5 separate regions of the Homo sapiens genome follow, and regions 1, 2, 4 and 5 are each linked to region 3. Evidence: promoter capture Hi-C in 16 types of primary human blood cells and fetal thymus (Javierre and others, 2016). All regions are on one chromosome and are shown on one strand. The core of a region is centred on a gene start or on the middle of the fragment in contact, and the rest is flanking DNA. Distances in the headings are between cores, read along the strand shown. Region 1 overlaps ARHGAP24 (Rho GTPase activating protein 24). Region 2 has its middle 200 kb from the start of WDFY3. Region 3 holds the start of ARHGAP24 (Rho GTPase activating protein 24). Region 4 has its middle 160 kb from the start of WDFY3. Region 5 has its middle 220 kb from the start of WDFY3.

Region 1 (2,700 bases), core at 127-2,626, 300 kb after region 3:
TCTATTGTCTATGGCTCAGCCCACTCCTGTTCTAAACAATCTGTGACTTCTCTTCACTCTTTCCTTCCTTCCTGCAGCCATTTAACCCTCTGAATCACCTTGACTCATTCCATGTAAAACTCTATGTCTCCTCAAGGCCTATTACCTTACAAGGTCTTACTCATATTTCCTTCCTGCTCTTTCTAATGGACTAAAGGTAAAACTGTCAATATCGAAAGTAAAGCTTAAGAAGTAAAAGGAAAATACAGAATATTTTTAGCAAATGCAAGTAATATGTATCAATGTGTCCAACTCTTGTCACATTTGACATATTAATGTTGCTTAACCTTTGCATAGGGCTCAAACAGACATAATCAAATGAGAATAAAAGGAAAATAAGATGCTGTCATTGTGTCAAAAACCATGGTTTTCCAAAATTTCTTTCTCAACATTTCTGTTTTGAATCTCAGTTGCTTATTTGTCAGCATTAGAAAAGTGCTATCATACCCATTAATTTCTCAACATTTTGGAAAATGTGTTCCAGAAAATCTAATTGTCATTTTAAATATTAATTACATTTTATAATTATTTGGTCATAAGCATACTGCTTCCTGCCAAAGAACAGGGCAAGAGTAGATGCCTTAAAAGTAGACGAGAAATATTAAAACCAAACAGTGCATTTCTGAATTAAAGAATAGGTAACAGTTTGAAAATAGGCCTTGAATGATCTGAGCATTTCTCATTGTGTCTTGGAATTGCAAAGTGTAAAGAAGATTTTGCTTTAAAATTTAAGGAGCCAGATCAAATGGAAAGATTAATAGTGGCCAGAGTGATTTCAGTGTGGGCCACTTCATATTTTGGTTTACTTGATCTGGGCAGGATGTTTTAAGATTGGAGCAACCCAATCGATAGGATATAAAGAAATCAAGGACACATGTTTGAAGTGTGAGAATGAATACAGAAGTAGTCATAGAGAATTGACCTTACTTCCCATGCAAACCCTTTGATTTTATTTGAAAATTCCCTACTTTTCTAAGGAAGCTATTGCTTGTCTGTTACACTATTTCACGTGGGAGGGATGAGATAGATCTTATGAATGTTCGATAAATATTTGTTAAATAAGTGAATGAATGAATGAATACATTTCAAAAAGGTAATTTTAAAAATTATTATAATAAGCACATCACTCTTTCAGTTAGAAAAACATAATTTATTCACCAATAAATAGGAAATACATGAAAGACACCAATGAAAATTGTTATGTTGCTTCTCTGTTTTATTTAACAAATTATACAATCAACAATAATCAAAACCAAATGTGTGTATTCAAAAAATCTTGATAGATTGAAAGTGGGGATTTGTGATAATAGCAAATGTGTGTCTAGTTTAAGAGCCGTGGAGTAGTATCACTGATACTAGGTAGAACACTTATTCTGCCACCTGTCACAGCACCATGCCTTACTGAAGCAGTACTCTGTAAGGACTAATAAATGTTAGCATCCCTTGAAACATGGCAGCTCCTGAGTTGTAAAAATATTCTGGACAATCAGCAAAGGAAAAGATTATTTCCTAATATACAAAGAAATTGGAGATTAAAGGGAAAGTTTCAATATTAAGGATTTTAAATCCAAAGGAAATGTTTTCTCTGAGACAGTTCTCACATCCTAATTGTGTTACTGCTCCCTGCCAATTCCTTTGCTTATTATGCAAGGATATAGAGGAAAAGGCAAACTATTTCCCCTCAGGTATGTTAGTGTAGTGGAAAAAGCATTGAAGCAGGAGTTGTGAAACCTGGTTATTTGTTAACTGTGGCACTAACTAGCCGTGTGAGTGACCTTATACAAATCATATTTTTCTCTGGGTTTCACTTCCCTTATCTACAAAATGGGTTCACCCGGCTAAATTATATTTAAGGTCCTGATGAGCTTTCTATGATTCCTATTTCTTATTTTGTTTTGTTTTGTTTCTAAATGCTCAAATACTACATTATTTAAGGTATATTTCCTTGTAGGTTTTTTTTCCCCTCTCTGTCTCTTTCTTCAATATATGGGATGGGAGGATACTGACTAAGTCTGAGAAGGAGGAGAAAGAAAATTAGCTACAGGAAGAGTTTATATCCCCTTCTACAAGAAAACTTAAATATAGCTACCACCGCTTTGAAAGGAATGGTTTGTGTCCAAACAGCATTTTCCAGACAAGCTCTGTACTTTTTTGCCAAAAGAATTAACTTTAAACTGAAGGCAGTGGACAGTTAAACAAGAGTCGGCACTGGGAACAGCTGTGCGTAGACCAGACCAGTGACTTATAAGGTACTGTTTTTACTCATTTAAATCTTCAGGGTTCATTTGTTTTGGGGACAAGTATTTAGTGGTCATTTGACCTTTTTTTCCTCCCTCTTCACCTCTATTTTGAGAGAAAATATACCCTTGAAAATATTTTAGCTTTTTAACTGTATTATTTTCTGGCTGTTGATATTTGAAACTACTCGGATTTTGCTTTGTTTTGTTAGTGTTTTTAGGAACCAGATGATTGTTGCTGTTGTTTTATTTTAAAGCTTAGTTTAGGTTTGTTTCTTTGTTGTATCTTGTCATGTGTGGTTTTTGTGTTTTATTGCTTGTGTTGGATAAAGATAAATATACTTTAGCATTACAAAATGTACAGAATGTTCTTGACTGGGCAGGAGGGGGAGCTTAATGAATCTTCAACTTGAAATATAGAACT
Region 2 (2,740 bases), core at 52-2,551, 310 kb before region 3:
TTATGTAATACCCTTCTTTGTCTCTTTTGACCTTTGTTGGTTTAAAGTCTGTTTTATCAGAGACTAGGACTGCAATCCCTGCTTTTTTGGGCTTTCCATTTGCTTGGTAAATCTTCCTCCATCCCTTTATTTTGAGCGTATGTATCTTTGCATATGAGATGGGTCTCCTGAATACAGCACATTGATGGGTCTTGACTCTTTATCCAATTTGCTAGTCTGTGTCTTTTAACTGAGGCATTTTGCCCATTTACATTTAAGGTTAATATTGTTATGTGTGAATTTGATCCTGTCATTATGATGCTAGCTGGTTATTTTGCTCGTTTGTTGATGCAGTTTCTTCATAACGTTGATAGTCTTTAAAATTTGGCATGTTTTTGCAGTGGCTGGTACTGGTTTTTCCTTTCCATATTTAGTGCTTCCTTTGGGAGCTCTTGTATGGCAGGCCTGGTGGTGACAAAATCTCTCAGCATTTGCTTGTCTGTAAATGATTTTATTTCCCTTCGCTTATGAAGCTTAGTTTGGCTGGATATGAAATTCTGGGTTGATAATTTTTTTCTTTAAGAATGTTGAATATTGGCCCCCTCTCTCTTCTGGCTGATAGGGTTTCTGCAGAGCGATCCACTGTTATTCTGATGGGCTTCCCTTTGTGGGTAACCCAACCTTTTTCTCTGGCTGCCCTTAACATTTTTTCCTTCTTTTCAACCTTGGTGAATCTGACAATTATGTGTCTTGGGGTTACTCTTCTTGAGGAATATCTTTGTGGTGTTCTCTGTATTTCCTGAGTTTGAGTGTTGGCCTGCCCTGCTAGGTTGGGGGAAGTTCTCCTGGATATTATCCTGAAGAGTATTTTCCAGCTTGGTTCCATTCTCCCCGTCACTTTCAGGTATATCAATCAAATGTAGATTTGGTCTTTTCTCTTAGTCCCATATTTCTTGAAGGCTTTGTTCATTTTTTTTTCACTCTTTTTTCTCTAAGCTTGTCTTCTTGCTCTATTTCATTACGTTGGTCTTCAATCACTGATAATCGTTTCTTCCACTTGATCAATTCAGCTATTGGAACTTGTGTATGCTTCACGAAGTTGTTGTGCTGCATTTTTCATCTCCATCAGGTCGTTTATATTCATTGCTACACTGGTTATTCCAGTTAGCAATTCATCTAACCTTTTTTCAAGGTTTTTAGCTTTCTTGCATTGGATTAGAACATGCTCCTTTAGCTCAGAGGAGTTTGTTATTACTCAGCTTCTGAAGCCTACTTCTGTCAATTCGTCTAACTCAGTCTCCATCCAGTTTTTTTCCCTTGCTGGCAAGGAGTTGTGATCCTTTGGAGAGAAGAGGCATTGTGGTTTTTGGAATTTTTAGTCTTTATTCACTGGTTTCTACCCATCTTTGTGGTTTTATCTACCTTTGGTCTTTGATGTTGGTGACCTACTGGTGGGGTTTTGATTTTTATGTCCGTTTTGTTGATGTTGATGGTATTCCTTTTTGTTTGTTAGTTTTCCTTCTAACAGTCAGGCCCCTCAGCTGCATGTCTGAAGGAGTTTGCTGGAGGTCCACTCCAGACCTGGTTTACCTGGGTATCACCAGCAGAGGCTGCACAACAGCAACTATTGCTGCCTGATCCTTCCTCTGGAAGCTTTGTCCCAGAGGGGCACCCACAGATGCCAGCCAGAGCTCTCCTGTATGAGGTGTCTATCAGCCCCCACTAGGAAGTGTCTCCCAGTCCAGCTACATGGGGGGTCAGGGACCCACTTGAGGAGGCAGTCTGTCTGTTATCGGAGCTCGAACGCTCTGCTGGGAGGATCACTGCTTTCTTCAGAGCTGTCAGGCAGGGACATTTAAGTGTGCTGAAGCTACTCCCACAGCTGCCCCTTACCCCGGGTGCTCTGTCCCAGAGAGATGGGAGTTTTTTTCTATAAGTCCCTGACTGGGGCTGCTGACTTTTCTTCAGAGATGCCCTGCTCACAGAGGTGGAATCTAGAGAAGCAGTTGGCCTTGCTAAGCTGTGGTGGGCCCTGCCCAGTTCAAATTTCCCAGTGGCTTTGTTTACACTGTGATCATAAAACTGCCTACTCAAGCCTCAGCAATGGCAGACACCCCTCCCCCACCAAGCTTGAGCGTCCCAGGTCAATCTCAGACTGCCACACAAGCAACGAGCATTTCAAGCCAATGGATCTTAGCTTGCTGGGTTCCGTGGGTGTGAGACCCACTGAGCCAAGCACCAGAGGGAATCTCCTGGTCTGCCAGTTGTGAAGACTGTGGGAAAAGTGCAGTATCTGGGCAGGAGTGTACTGTCCTCCTAGTATAGTCTCTCACAGCTTCCCTTGTCTAGGAAAGGGAAATCTCCTGACCCCTTGCACTTCCTGGGTGAGGCGATGCCCTGCCCTGCTTTGGCTCACCCGCCATGGGCTGCACCCACTGTCCAACCAGTCCCAATGAGATGAACCAGGTACCTCAGTTGGAGATGCAGAAATCACCCACCTTTTGTGTTGATCTTGCTGGGAGCTGTAGACCAGAGCTGTTCCTGTTTGGCCATCTTTGCCTCAGTACTTTTGATGAAATAAATTATAGTGGTCACTGTTGAATCGTTGCTTATTTCTTCCTCATCCTGTTTTCTTCTTCCTTTCTTTTTCTTTCCTTAGGTGTAAATACCATCTTGCATTGCATTTTATGATTGTCATTGTCATGTATGTTGGAGGCCACTGATTTTGGAGTCTAGCCAAGTAGACTATGGCTTTAGCTGT
Region 3 (2,700 bases), core at 126-2,625:
ATGAAATATGAAACGCAATTTTTTCCCCACACAAATTAATTTGATTCATTAAAGGGCTGAGAATTCTCCCACCAGAAAATCAAGTTTATAGTAGGACCTCAGCATGGGATGGGGTAGATTCGTTTCTCCAAGAACTTGGAGAAAGAGGACAAAAAGGAAAAACATATCAGTGTCCACTCAGCCTTTTATTTTTGGTGTTTCTAAAACTAAACATTTGCTCTTCTTCCATATCCCTCTCTCACTGGAGATCCCTAGTGAGGACACCCCCATTCTGTGTCTTAAGGATATCTGGTGATGATTTCTAAAAGAGAGTTTCTTTTATTAGTAGTAGCAGTAGTAATTGTTCGAGACGGGGGTGTCACTCCGTCACCTAGGCTGGAGTGCGCTGGCACAATTATAGCTCACTGCAGCCTTGACCTCCTGGGCTCAAGGGATTTTCCCGCTTCAGCCTCCTGAGTAGCTGGGACTACAGACATACGCCGCCACGCCCAACTTTTTTTTTATTTTTTTAATTTTTTTTTTATAGAGACAGGAGTCTCATTATGTTGCCAATTTTGGTCTGAAACCCCTGGGCTCAAGCGATCCTCCTGCCTCAGCCTTCCAAAGTGCTAGGATTGCATGACTGATCCACTGTAAGTGGGTTTCTAAAACAGAGATCTTTACAAAGCTTTTTGAAATAATTTGACTCAGCATGCCAGGTAACCAGAACTGTAAGATCACAATTTGAAACAGACATTGTGGTGATGGTGGGAAGAGACGGCCTGCATCAAAACAATGTTTACTAGTTTGTCCTTTTGTCCCATATTGTGTAACTCCGAGAGTTCTTACACCACCGTAAGAAAGTAATTATACTTTGAATTTCTCTAAGGCTCTAGTTAGAGAGCATCCATCTAAATGTGCATTTCCAGGAATATTGCTTTAATGGCCCAGGTAATTCTAATTGGAGAAATAAAATGTTAGCGAGACAGAGTTGGTAGAAGCAAGTAAAACCGGTGTATGGGGTTTGGCCAATGAAATGCAGAGCTCCTTGAGGGCAGGAGACATGTATTCACCAACCTTCTCGCGCCCACAGCCCCAGATCTGTGGCCAACAAGTATCTATGATGCACTTGAAAGGAACGAGCGATGCCAGATGCGGAGGAACCAGGCAGGGCGCATTCTGTCAGTGGCGCCAGGCGGTGTAGCTCCAGCTCTCAGATAACCCAGGCTTTGGGAGGGCGGGGCTCCTGCCGGCCTCCCCTGTAGTGCGGCTCGAGTCCTGTGAAGCTACCAGTTGCCAAATGAAATCTGAAACCTCGAGCTGTGTCTGAGGGTTGGCCCCACTCAGTTGTTCCAGCCTCTTGTACTGTATATTTACACATTCACACACAATCACCCTTTCTAACTTCTGGGACTCTTTGCGCAACTGCTAGGATTTCTCAAGTGCATGTGGCAACACAGCCCAGCTCCGGGTGGAAACCAGCAGGGCTCTGGAGGGGCTCGGAGACCAGGGGAGCTGTCAAGGCTGCGGCGGGGACCAGAGAGGAGCCTGGCGGGGGTGGCTGGGTGGCTGGGGGAATCCCCCCAACTTCCCATCGCAGGCGCAGCTCTCTCGGCCGCCTATTTCCTCCGAAACCCGCGCTGCGGAGCAGCCCAGTGCATAGAGTTCAACACTTCCCCTTGTTGTGGAAAGTAAAGGAGCCTCACTACCACCTTTTTTTCTTTGCGTTTTCTTACTGCTGGTCCTGGGAGCCTTTTCCTTCGGAGCAGCAGCCCTGTCCGGCATCTGTCTTGAGCTCCCAGCAAGGTAGGTGATGCGGTCGCGAGGAAGTGCGCGGAGCTACCGCGGGAAGGACGGACGCGGCTGCCTGCGCCAGGGGAGGGGGCTGCGGGGGGCGGGGAGGGGGCTGCGGGGGGCGGGGAGGGGGCTGCGGGGGGCGGGGAGGGGGCTGCGGGGGGCGGGGAGGGGGCTGCGGGGGGCGGGGAGGGATCGCAGGAATCCCGTGCTGATGTAGCCTGTCTGTGTTTGTGTGTGTGTGTGCGCGCGCGCGCATGTTTGTGCCGGGAGACAGCAAGCTGGTAGTATGTCTTTCTGGCTTTAAAAATAGATGGAATTAATAAAAACCCTTTGTACAATTCAATTTCCTCTCTTGGTATCCATCCTCCCCTTCCCCTTGTTTGTTTCCTCTAGTATCTTATAGGAGTTCCCTATGTAACAGGCGCACAAAGATAGGTTTTAATAATAAGCATATATATTTGCAAAAATATATATTTTATATGTATAAAATATGTTTTAAAATATTTATAAATATATTACATATTAGAAATATATATTATAAAATATATACATATATTTGTAAACACAAAACGTTAGGGAATCTTTGGTGAATTTGAAGCCACTCAAAAGATTTTGTCCAAATGTTTTTAAAAATAACATTTAATGATAAACATGTAATATGGTCTCGTTTTTAGAAAATACTTAAGACTACATTTATTTTATACGTACCCAAATAGAAGGGAGACAATGTTACTCTGAATTCCTTAGATAGATTTTCAGCATCAACCAGTAATAGGGAGCCCAGACTTCTTTGTAGACTATATCTCGTTTAATTCATTTGAATTAAACAAGTAATTTCTCCAAGTAATTTCTGTTTCCAGCACATTTTATGTTACTCTTTTTTTAACCTTCCACGGCATCATTGTTTCATCTCTTTCTAAAAAG
Region 4 (2,761 bases), core at 252-2,751, 350 kb before region 3:
ATTCAGGATGGCTCACATATTCTGTCTGGTTCTTTCCTTGACCATCCTGCTCCATCTTCCACTCTGGTTCCTGTCTAGCTTCACATTTCTGCTTTCATCTCTTAATATAATTGAGAATTTCTTGTAATCGCTTTCAAGAAGCTTTGATAGCTCTGTGCTCATAGACAGTGGTCTGATTTCTCCTCTTGAATTGTATCCAAATGTTAACAGCCTTTGTTCCCACCTTGGCTGGGCTCAAACAAAGATCTTGTCTTTTATTTATTAATGTTTTACTTACCAAGTGTCAGACTTCACAGTTACTAGTACAGTACCCAGTAGGTTGTCTCTTAATAATGACATGTTGGTTGACTGGGTCATCAATAAATGAGGTATACATATTCAGTTAATTTGAATAACTTTAATGCAAACCTGTAAGAACAAATACATTCAAAAGCACAAATCTGGAGAGGCTACACAGGTTTTCCAGTTACATTGCCAAAACTCAATATATTACTTTATAGTCACACTTTGTAAGATTCTATTTTTGTGACATTTGAGCTGTGTTTCTAGTGTTCTGAGGAATCCAGTCGTCATGCATAAGCAAAATGTGCCATGTCAGGATATGTGCAGCATACTCACACATGGTCCAAAACTTAAGGGGAGAGTGCTCAGTTGGATGGCAGGACCTGCATTCCAAAGAATGATGACAGACTAGAAATTGGTCCATCTCCAAGCATGAAAAAAATCAAACAAAATTAAATTTAATTGCATTAATTTTAAGGTCACAACCAGCATCCAGAAAATTAACTAGTTGAAATAAAAGATGCAGAAAGCATGGGTAAGTGACATTGTAAGATAAATTGAGTAAGAGCGACTAGTCCTGAACTAAACTATTAATATGAAATTTTAATGGCAGGGAGATGTCACTTAGCCTCTGAATGTATATAATTTTAAACTATGATGTTATCTTAGTCATTTTTATTTGGATCCAGAAAAATGGAAAGCCAGATGTGTTTTACTTTATATAGAGGATTACAAAGAGTACTTATGGTATAATCTCATTTGTGTAAAAAAAAAAAGCTATATACATTTCTATATAAAATTGGCAAGATGCACAAAAAATTGATTGCTGATGGTTTCCTATGGAGAGTAGCATATAATACTTTTATACTAAACACTAGACAATAATACTACTACTAGTATTACTCCTGGTAGTACTACTCCTCCTACCACTAGGTTGGACTACCAAACCATTTGGTTTCTTTCTGGATCTGACACAGGGTGGTTCTGTCTGCCGCATGAGGGAACAGAAAAATTCCAAGTCTTTTGGCTTCTTTTATATCAAGGATCTGTATATGCCCAATGTTAAATTAGGTGTATTTACATCATAACAATTCATATTATAATTTTGTAATGAAATTCACATATGATACCGGTGCTTATGGTGCAGTAAAGTGAATTTTTTTTAGTAACCTTTGCAGCTTAGGGAAAGTTTTTAAAAGTAAATAATAATAAAGATAATTGGCTGGTTCATAGTCTTCTCATCTATTTGGTAATTCATTTCTCTATTTTTAATTCTTTTTAAATTTAATTTTTAATTTTTATGGATACATACTAGGTATATATATCTATTTAAAATCATACTTTAATAGAGGGCCAAGCACTCATCTAGTGGCTACTGAAAATGCAAGTGCTGTGACCAAAAATAGACTTTCAAGACTTTATTTTGTACTGATGAATTTATGAGCAATTCATAGCCAGTTTCTTCCCTCAGTGGTGGTCCAGAAGAACCAAAGTACTAATTTCAGTTGAAAGGTAATATTGCTGCAGTTGTTACATAAATGTACATTCTAAGGTCCTATTAACCTTCTTTTTTAATTCAATAGGTTTTTGGGGAACAGATAGTGTTTGGTTACATGAGTAAATTCTTCAGTGGTGATTTCTGAGATTTTGGTGCACCCATCACCCAAGCAGTATACACTGTACCCAGTGTGTAGTCTTTTATCCTTCACCCCACTCCCACTCTTTCCCCCAAGTCTCCAAAGTCCATTGTATTATTCTTATGTCTTTGTGCCTTTATAGCTTACCTCCTACTTATGAGTGAGAACATATGATGTTTGGTTTTCCACTCCTGAGTTACTTCGCTTAAAATAATGGTCTCCAATTCCATCCAGGTTGCTGTGAATGCCATTATCTTATTCTTTTTTGTGGCTGAGTAGTATTCCATGACACACACACACACACACACACACACACACACACATATACATACCACATTTTCTTTATCTACTTGTGGATTGATGGACATTTGGGCTTGTTCCATATTTTTGCAATTGTGAATTGTGCTGCTATAAACATGCAAGTGCAAGTTTTTTTTTTATATAATGCTTCTTTTTCTCTGGGTAGATACCAAGTAGTGGAATTGCTGGATTAAATAATATATCTACTTTTAGTTCTTTAAGGAATCTCCACACTGTTTTCCATAATGGTTGTACTAGTTTTCATTCCCAACCAAAATGTAACAGTATTCCCTTTTCACCACATCCATGCCAACATCTATTTTTTGAATTTTTGATTATGACCAGTTTTGCAGGAGTAATGTGGTATCACATTGTGGCTTTGATTTGCATTTCCCTGATAATTAGTAATGTTGAGCATTTTCCCACATGCTTTTTGGTCATTTGTATATCTTCTTTTGAGAATTGTCTACTCATGTCCTCAGCCCACTTTTTTTTTGATGGGATTGTTTTTTTTCTTGCTGATTTGTTTGAGTTCTTTGTAG
Region 5 (2,817 bases), core at 13-2,512, 290 kb before region 3:
ATGAAATTAATCTATTTTTGGGAAAGTATGTCACAAGAATGTACATTAGGTGGCAAATAGTATGCAAGATGTTAAAGCTTTGAAGGACAAATTCAAACTTCCACTGGATAAGGATTGCAAATTTAAGCCTCTTTTATGTCAAACAGCTTTTCACCTTCAGATTATTTCACAGGTTGCAGAGTTTGTGTGGGAGGATAGAAGAATAGAAAATGTATCCATTGCCATAGCCCTGGTGGTATTATAAATCATGGCAAAAATAATCATTTATTACTTCAATCCTAACAATACTGCAGTTACATTTTTGATGTGTGTTAAAAATATATTTTTCATTAAAAATTGTGGTTAAATATACATAAATGAAATTTACTGTCTTAACCATGTGAAAGCGTATGGCTCTATACCATTAAGTACATTCATGTTATTGTGCAACCATTATCACCATTCATCTTCAGAACTTTTTCATCTTCCCCAACTGAAACTGTACCTCTATGCACTAAGTTCCTATTGCTTCTTTCCCTAGCCCCTGGCAAACACCATTCTACTTTCCATCTCTATAAATTTGACTACTTTAGGTGCCTCATATAAGTAGAATAATACAATATTTGTTCTTTTATGAATGGCTTATTTCACGTAGCATGATGTTTTCAAAGTTCCTCCAAGTTATAGCACGTGTCAGAATTTCCTTCATTTTTAACTTTGAATAATATTTCATCATATGTATATCCCATATTTTCCTTATCCATTCTTCTGTTGATGGTTGATGGATAGTTAGTTAGTTTCCACCTTTTGGCTATTATAAATACGTAATGCTGCCATGAACATGGGTATACAAATATCTGTTCAAGTCCCTGCTTTAATTCTTTTGAGTATATTCTCAGATGTGGAACTACAGGGTCATATAGTAATTCTATTTTTAATTCTTTGAGGAGCAACCATATCATTGTCCATAGTGGCTGCACCATTTCACCTTCCTACCAGCAATACACAAGGGTTCCAATTTCTGCACATCCTCCCCAAGTTATTGTCCTCTTTTTGATAATAGCTATTCTAATTAATGTGAAGTGAGATCTCACTATGGTTTTGATTTACATTTCCTTAATGATTAGTGATATTGAACATATTTTCATGTGTTTATTGGCCCTTTGTATATCTTCTTTGGATAAACGTCCATTCAAGTCTTTTGCCCATTTTAAAATCAGGGTTTTTTTTGTTGTTGAGTTGGAGTTCTTTATATATTCTGGATGTTGATCCCTTATCAGATATATAATTTGCAAATATTTTTCTCCCATTCGGTAGACTGTCATTTCACTCTATTGATGGTGTCCCTTGATGCACAAAAATTTTTAATTTTGATGACGTTTATTCATTTATTGTTTCACTTGTTGCCTGTGCTTTTGGTGTCTCTCAAGAAATCATTGCCAAACACAATGATATGAAGATTTTGCTCTGTTTTTTCTTCTACTAGTTTTATAGTTTTCATTCTTACATTGAGTTTTTAATTCAGTTTGAGTTACTTTTTGTAAATGGTTGAAGGAAAGGGTCCAGCTTCATTTTTTTGCATGTGGCTATCCATTTCCAACATTTGCTGAATGTCTTTCAATTTTAAAGAAAAATTCTCATGTATCGTATGCCTTTTGGTCTATAATTAATGCTTGCTTATATTTGATAATTTAAGTTTAATGTTAAAAAGATTAGCACATACTCTCTAGCAATACTGGATAAACACACACACACAATAAACATAAAGTCACAAGAGTTGTGTTTGCATGAGATATCACTTGGCTTCTTGGGGAAAAATATAGCAAATAAGACATTACTGGACAGATAGTCATCATCAAATTTTAGAGAAAGACTTTCCTAACATTTTAAGAAGTTGAGAAACCTCTTGGAGTTAGAGAAAAGCAAAGATAAGTGTCCTGCTTTAGCATTATAATTTAATTTCTACTGTGTATTTTTGTGATTATAAGAATAAATAATTATTTAATCAATCACAATATTTTCAAAATAAAATGGTTGTGGGCCACAGAGTTCTAGAATTTAATACCATAACTCTATTTACCAACAACTCTGATGCACATATTTTATGATTGGATATATAATTTATTTGAAATAAATTTATGATAATTTTACCTTTGACAGCTTTTCTTTAATAACTTTACATGTACTTTTAGATACTTTTAATTAAAATTTTATCATGATAATATAATTATTATAAATAAATATGTTGATACATTGGATATTCTTTAAATATATGAATATAAACTTCTTTCAGTAAGGAATCTCATAACATCTAAGGGTTAGTTTATAATTGTTTTTAGAATATACAAATCATTGTATATTTTTCCCTATCTTTCTTTTCTTGCCTCATAGCTTCAATTTCTCTTTTAGAGATTGCTATGTTCAGTTTTGGGGTATACATTCCTCCATTGCTTTAGCTGACTCCTTCAAAAAGCTTTATTTCCTTTTGTGGTTTGTAATCTTTGTGAGCTAGTCTTCAGGAGAAGCTGTTTTTCTTGGGAGTCAAGAATATTCTGCACTATGGATGTCTACCCTTAATTGTTTTGATTTTGTCTCTGCAGAAGCCTCAACTGCATTGTAAAATTTACCTTGCACCTTATCTCACTAGATGCTTAAAATTTAATTTCTCCAAGAAGACTTCATCATCTCCTCTATTCTTGGCTTGTAGATGACCAACTTCTCCTGATGTCTTCAGATGGCCTTCCTTCTGTGTGTGTCTGCATTCTAATTTCCTCTTCTTCTAAGAACACCAATCACATTTGATTAGGGTCTACCCTAATGACTTCATTTTAACTAAAC

The links. The method cuts DNA at HindIII sites, captures the fragments that hold promoters and counts their contacts. A CHiCAGO score of 5 or more calls a contact.
Region 1: a fragment that was not itself captured here is called in contact with the fragment with the promoter of ARHGAP24 in region 3 in 3 of 17 cell types (total B cells, naive B cells and monocytes); the score reaches 22.7 in total B cells.
Region 2: a contact is called between a fragment that was not itself captured here and the fragment with the promoter of ARHGAP24 in region 3, in 2 of 17 cell types (total B cells and naive B cells). The highest score is 6.0, in total B cells.
Region 4: a fragment that was not itself captured here is called in contact with the fragment with the promoter of ARHGAP24 in region 3 in 1 of 17 cell types (total B cells); the score reaches 5.8 in total B cells.
Region 5: a fragment that was not itself captured here is called in contact with the fragment with the promoter of ARHGAP24 in region 3 in 2 of 17 cell types (naive B cells and total B cells); the score reaches 6.5 in naive B cells.

What each region holds. Positions count from the first base shown.
Region 1 is chr4:85,776,678-85,779,377 of GRCh38, forward strand. The region is part of intron 3 of ARHGAP24 (Rho GTPase activating protein 24); the gene reads left to right. Among named protein-coding and RNA genes, the nearest start is that of MIR4451, 56 kb to the left of the region's middle. The HindIII fragment of the contact is 2,310 bases long and covers 222-2,531 here.
Region 2 is chr4:85,164,429-85,167,168 of GRCh38, forward strand. No RefSeq gene overlaps it. Among named protein-coding and RNA genes, the nearest start is that of WDFY3, 200 kb to the left of the region's middle. RefSeq lists an enhancer at 2,228-2,728. The HindIII fragment of the contact is 657 bases long and covers 974-1,630 here.
Region 3 is chr4:85,473,775-85,476,474 of GRCh38, forward strand. It overlaps ARHGAP24 (Rho GTPase activating protein 24), which reads left to right and starts at 1,376. Exons shown (of 10, transcript NM_001025616.3): 1 at 1,376-1,785. The HindIII fragment of the contact is 5,990 bases long and covers 666-2,700 here.
Region 4 is chr4:85,121,893-85,124,653 of GRCh38, forward strand. No RefSeq gene overlaps it. Among named protein-coding and RNA genes, the nearest start is that of WDFY3, 160 kb to the left of the region's middle. The HindIII fragment of the contact is 2,725 bases long and covers 140-2,761 here.
Region 5 is chr4:85,182,397-85,185,213 of GRCh38, forward strand. No RefSeq gene overlaps it. Among named protein-coding and RNA genes, the nearest start is that of WDFY3, 220 kb to the left of the region's middle. The HindIII fragment of the contact is 2,375 bases long and covers 76-2,450 here.